Linked DNA regions of Homo sapiens: region 1 is linked to region 2. The links are contacts of gene promoters, found by promoter capture Hi-C in human tissues and cell types (Jung and others, 2019). All regions are on one chromosome and are shown on one strand. The core of a region is centred on a gene start or on the middle of the fragment in contact, and the rest is flanking DNA. Distances in the headings are between cores, read along the strand shown. Region 1 overlaps MYH10 (myosin heavy chain 10). Region 2 holds the start of MFSD6L (major facilitator superfamily domain containing 6 like).

Region 1 (2,700 bases), core at 135-2,634, 240 kb before region 2:
AATTGATTTGCATAAAGGTCAGATTATGGTACTTAGAATATTCAATCGGAACTTCACCAGTAAAAACAAAAGCATGGAAAACCCCCAAAACGTGACAAGTACCTTGTGTATTAATTACAGCTACACATTTTGATAACGCTTATTGTATACCAATCCAGAAACAAGTGAAATTACACGTGTACTGTGAGAGCTCTCAACAGCAAAGACAACTAGAATTCTCTCATATATAATCAAATATAACTTGTTAAGGATTTCACTCAAAATGTGCAATAGGGAAACCCGGATATTTGATATTTTCATACCCTGAAGAAAATAAAATGAAAATTATCTTAATTAGTTTCAAAAATTTTGTTTGTTCTGAATTGACATCGATTTCTAGAATCTTTTCTGGGGTGATTATAATGTATCTATAGTAACTAAAACTAGATTAGTTATTAGTTAGCAACTTAATTTAGGGGCAATGCAGGTTTGTTTCATATTCTGAACATATTTTCCCCCTTCTTAATTTGGCATCTAAAGTTATTACATGATCTGCAGTATGCATTAAAACACATCAGCACAGATAGGGTGCTATGCATGTGTGTTAGCTATTTGCCCTAAATGAGAAAATCCATTCTAGGAGTAATGAGCTAGCACTTAATCCAAAGGCCAGATGGCCACCTTAAATGCTTTAGCTATCTTAATCTCCAAACCAAACCAGAAGCTTTGTTGTTAGTAAAATGAGTTTTCACATGCACTAAGTGGCCTCATTACTTAGTATAATGGATATTAGAAATCACTAGGGTAACATGAGTGGCATTAAGCCATGGACTGATTAGAAAGAGATATATATTAACTTCAAATAGAGCCTTAAAAAAAGATAAATACATAAATAAAAACAAAGAAAGATATATATAGACCCTCCCCAATCCGGGGTCAAGGGAACAAGTGTTGAGACTCCAGCAAGTCCAGGAGGCTGTATTGTTGGGGGTGCTCCTAGAGCTTGATACTAAATGGCTGTGTGCAGCCAGTGATCTGGAAGATGCTGGTTGCCTGGTGCAGACCATATTCTGTCACTGATACTGTCACATTTGCCTCAGTAAATCTTTCAGGTAAACGTTTGGTTAGAGAAATTAAACAGAGCTGGGCTGCATGCAACTTACAAAACTGTTTTCAGCAACTGCCTTTTGATAAATAGATATGAGGGTGCAGAATCCGGACGTGCTTTCATTATAACCTGGTCGCCAAACTGTAAGGAGGATGCCTAGAGCCCTTACCTAGCTTTAACTGCTGGAGGATACTTATCTACCAAGAGGTACATAATAGTTGGAAATTGCCAGCCTGGCTTAAGTCAACTTGGAAAAAAAAAAAAAAAAGAGAGAGAGAAAGAAAATAAAAGGAAAGAAAAGAAGGATTTGTGGAAATAGAGAAAGTGATTCTAACTAAAACTCTGTGAGGGAAGATGTACCTGCTGATCCAAACAATCATTTTGAAATTGAAGTCCCTGTTTTTAAAGTTTCATTATGAGAGATTCTTTTTACATAAATCTCCTCCATCTGGAACGCATTTTACTTCTCCATAAACAGAGAACTGGACTAACTGTGAACGATTATTTTCTTAAGGGTAATGCTCTCCTAAATAAAGAATCCCTTTAATATAAACCATATGCTAGTATCTTTGAAAGAAAAGATATTCTTCAGGAAATTAGTCGTCTATATCAGATCAAAGAAATGGAACCAAATGGATTCTAAAGCTTATGGAGTTTATAGCCTCAAATATTTTCACTGTAAGCATGTAGCTTATAAATATGACTGCATGAAATTTCACTGTATACACAACTCATTTTTTAACATCGTACTACTCTTGGTATGACATTGATCTCAACCCAAGGCCTGGCCTGCCCACGGAGCAACTGCCTCCCTCATGTTCTCTACCCTTGCTTCTAAAATGGGGGCATGCATATTCTCAGAGGATCTAGCATATGCACTACCTTCCCCGAGCTCAACAACATCATGACATGCCGTTGAAAACATATTAAAGTTAACACCAATATGAAGGTGTGCTCTACAGGGCTAGGGAACCTTAGTTTTGACCACTGGTATATTCCCAGGGCCTGGAAGAGTGTATGGCACTTTGTAGTGTCTGCCACATTTTCAGTAAATGAATTCCATAAAATCCATAAATATACCTGTGGGGCACTATGCTAGGAACCAAAGATACAAAGTCCCTACTGACAAAGATCTTAGACATTCTACTAGGAAAGATAATAAATACACAAAGTAATTAGTTACAGCTTGTGATAGGTGCCATGAGGGAAATAAACAGGATACTGTGATAGAGAATAATAGAAGAAATATCCTCAGATATGGTTTTAGACTAACTAGCTAGTTAGGAGAAGAAATGTGGACAGATCTGAAACACCTTCTAGATGTTTAACCAACAGGATTCACTGTTGGCCTGGACGTGGGCCATGAGAAAAAGGCTGATTCCTAGGTATTTTGTCTTTCTAGGTTTTGCTATTGCTTTTATTTTAAGTTTAACCAACTGGGTGATTTCATAATACCATCTATTGATGTAAGACATAAAGGAACAAATTTTGAAAGGAAAGGAAAAACTTTCATTTGGAATATGTTAAACTTCAAGAATCTATTGACATCCATTTGGAGATATCAATTAAGCTGCACAGTGGCTGGCAAATAATAGGTGCTTAATAATTAAAAG
Region 2 (2,700 bases), core at 76-2,575:
TGGACAGTGCTTTGACCCTTTTGTAGCTGGGCTCCCACTGCTGACAGATGGGAATGGGAAAGGCAATGCTCACCAGTAAGGCCAGGGTGCTGACCACCGAGTACCCATAGAAGTGGACCACACCTCGGGGGCCACTGGTCATCAGGAAGCAGTCCAGCTGCCCCACCAAGGCTGTGATGCCACACACGCCTGCCGACATGCCCAGCAACCTCCAGACCCACAGGCTTCTGTATCGGTCAGTGGCATCCACAAAATCCAGGAACTCATAAAGGCTGTCATCTGCCACCTGCTCCAGAGGCGCTGTCAGCAGCTCCCAGAACGCCACGGACCCCAAGGAGAGGATAAAAGTCCGCCGCAACGCCTCCAAGGACAGGTCAAAAGCCCAGGCTTTCCCCTTGGTCCCTGACAAATTGGCTGGATTCCCGGGCCCTTTCCCCCCAGGAAGCAAGGGGAGGGCTGTCTTGACCACCTCAAAAGTAACTTCCCAGGGATGATCTTTCAGCCCCGAAGTGACAGGATGGAGGAGAGCTTGGGATGTGGTCCTAGCTCCTTCAACGGAGGGCGCTAAGTAGACGTGCAGATCACGGAAAGTTTCTCGGTCACTTTCACCAGGTGGGTTTCTGAAGCCAGGCATTTCCACCTCTGCAGTCCTCTTGGCTGGGTGGCTGGAGGCAGACTCTTGGGCCGAGGTGATGTTCACAGGTAGCGTGACCCCCGGGAGTGCGTCTGTGCTGGTCAGGCCGCTGCTTCCATTACAAGGGAAGTGCACCCGATTTTTGTCTACCGGTGGGACCAGGACCATCAGCAGGCTGGCCCCCACCGAGCCGAGCAGGGAGCCGATCAGAAGCGCTCTCCTTTTCCGGTAGCTTTTGGCCAGGAAGGCACAGACGGGAGCCCAGAAGGCAGCGATTAGGTGCTTGGTTCCCATTAGGGTGCCCACCCAGGGCGCGGCCAAGCCCAGCTGCCTCAGGTAAAGGGTCAGGAACGGGGTCACGCAGGCTTCCCGCACCCCGCACACCAGGTGGAAGAGCTTGGCCACCCCCAGCGCCCTGCTGATGTCCCACCGGGGGTTGGCACTCATGGCTGCCGGGCTCTGTCAGGCCTGGGCCGACGGAGGGCGGAGCTGGGCGCAGGGCGGGCGCGGCCCCAGGTACCCGGGAGGGAGGCTTGGGGGACCGGGGCTCGGAGCGAGTGGGACTGCGCCCCCGGTCTGGGGCGGCGCCGCGGTCACCAGGTCAACGGCCGCCCCCGGCCACAGCCCCCAGGTCCTGCCGTTGGACCGAAAGGGGCCCCGCCCGGAGGGAGAGGCGGGGCGGGGGCGAAGGTGGGGGCGGGGCCAGCGCACCTGCGAGCCGCACCTGCCACGTCCCACCGCCTCCGCGGGCCACCTGCCCGGACGTGCGCAGGTGCGCTAGGGGCGCGTCCGGGGGCCTGTAGGGTGCGCTCTGAGCTAGGCCTCGGGCCCCGCCTGGCCTCTGGCTGCCAATGTGGCCCAGGAGCCTGAGCTAAACGCCTGGACTGCTTCAGGCAAGTAAAACCGTCAGAGTCGGCGTGGGGGGGAGCCAGAATGGAATGAATGGTATCCACCAGGCTGTCTCCCTCATCTTCTTCAGGTCTGTACTGGAATGCACCCTGATCAGTGACCAACCACAGACAGAGATCAACACGGTCCACTCTGACATCGCAAATCCCATACCCCTGTACCCACCCCGCCCCCAAGACTCCCACTCCCCTGCCCTACTTGATCGTTCTCTCTAGAACTTATCACTGACCAAGGCACTACGGGCTTATATTTCATGTGTTGACTTTGTTTATTGTCTGTCTCCACCAGAATCCAAGCTCCAGGAAGGCAGGTATTTTTGTCCCCGGGGCCTAGAATTGTTTCATTGGATGCATACTGCCCTCGGAAATGGCATGACCTTGGGTGACATGGTTGTCTCCAGCTGGGACAGTCCCTAAGGAGGGCTGACAGCTGATGGCAGTCGTCCAGGGGAACTCCTTGCAGCCGATCGCCAGCACATGGCAGTCCCCAGAGCCATATGTATGTGCTGCACAGTTTTAACCTACACCTAAGGGTGGTCTGGTGCCCTGTTTGAGAGTACACACACTTGAGGTGGTTAGCTAGCATTTCATCAAAAAGACAGAGACAGCTAGTACAAGCACGTCGACAATCTTAAATCAACAGAAGTGTCTTCACTAATGGACATAATAGATATTAGAAATAGTTTTTCACTGGTGAAATTAGTGGTGTCCAAGCCACCTGGATTGGAGATAATTTTTTTGAAGGCATTTCCTCTCTTGCTGGAACAGGCTATAATAATCTAGAGATGGCCTGGTGCGGTGGCTCATGCCTGTAATCCCAGCACTTTGGGAGGCCGAGGCAGGTGGATCACGAGGTTAGGAGATCGAGACCATGCTGGCTTACACGGTGAAACCCTGTCTCTACTAAAAATACAAAAAAATTAGTTGGTTGTGGTGGTGTGTGCCTGTAGTCCCAGCTCCTTGGGAGGCTGAGGCAGGAGAATGGCATGAACCCGGGAGGTGGAGCTTGCAGTGAGCCGAGATCACGCCACTGCACTCCATCCTGGGCAACAGAGTGGGACTCCGTCTCAAAAAAAAAAAAAAAAAATCTAGAGATGCCAGTAGTCCAAACCCTTTGGAAGGATGCTATAGGCTTTGCTTCAAAATGGTCCAGTGTGC

Evidence for each region. Contacts are between HindIII fragments. The study calls those that stand out against the background at their distance.
Region 1: a contact is called between a fragment that was not itself captured here and the fragment with the promoter of MFSD6L in region 2, in 2 of the 25 tissues and cell types used here (H1 embryonic stem cells and pancreas).

What each region holds. Positions count from the first base shown.
Region 1 is chr17:8,562,553-8,565,252 of GRCh38, forward strand. The region is part of intron 7 of MYH10 (myosin heavy chain 10); the gene reads right to left. Among named protein-coding and RNA genes, the nearest start is that of MYH10, 67 kb to the right of the region's middle. The HindIII fragment of the contact is 5,307 bases long and covers 1-2,700 here.
Region 2 is chr17:8,798,040-8,800,739 of GRCh38, forward strand. It overlaps MFSD6L (major facilitator superfamily domain containing 6 like), which reads right to left and starts at 1,326. Exons shown (of 1, transcript NM_152599.4): 1 at 1-1,326. The coding sequence starts at 1,081. RefSeq lists a silencer at 1,400-1,459. The HindIII fragment of the contact is 25,791 bases long and covers 1-2,700 here.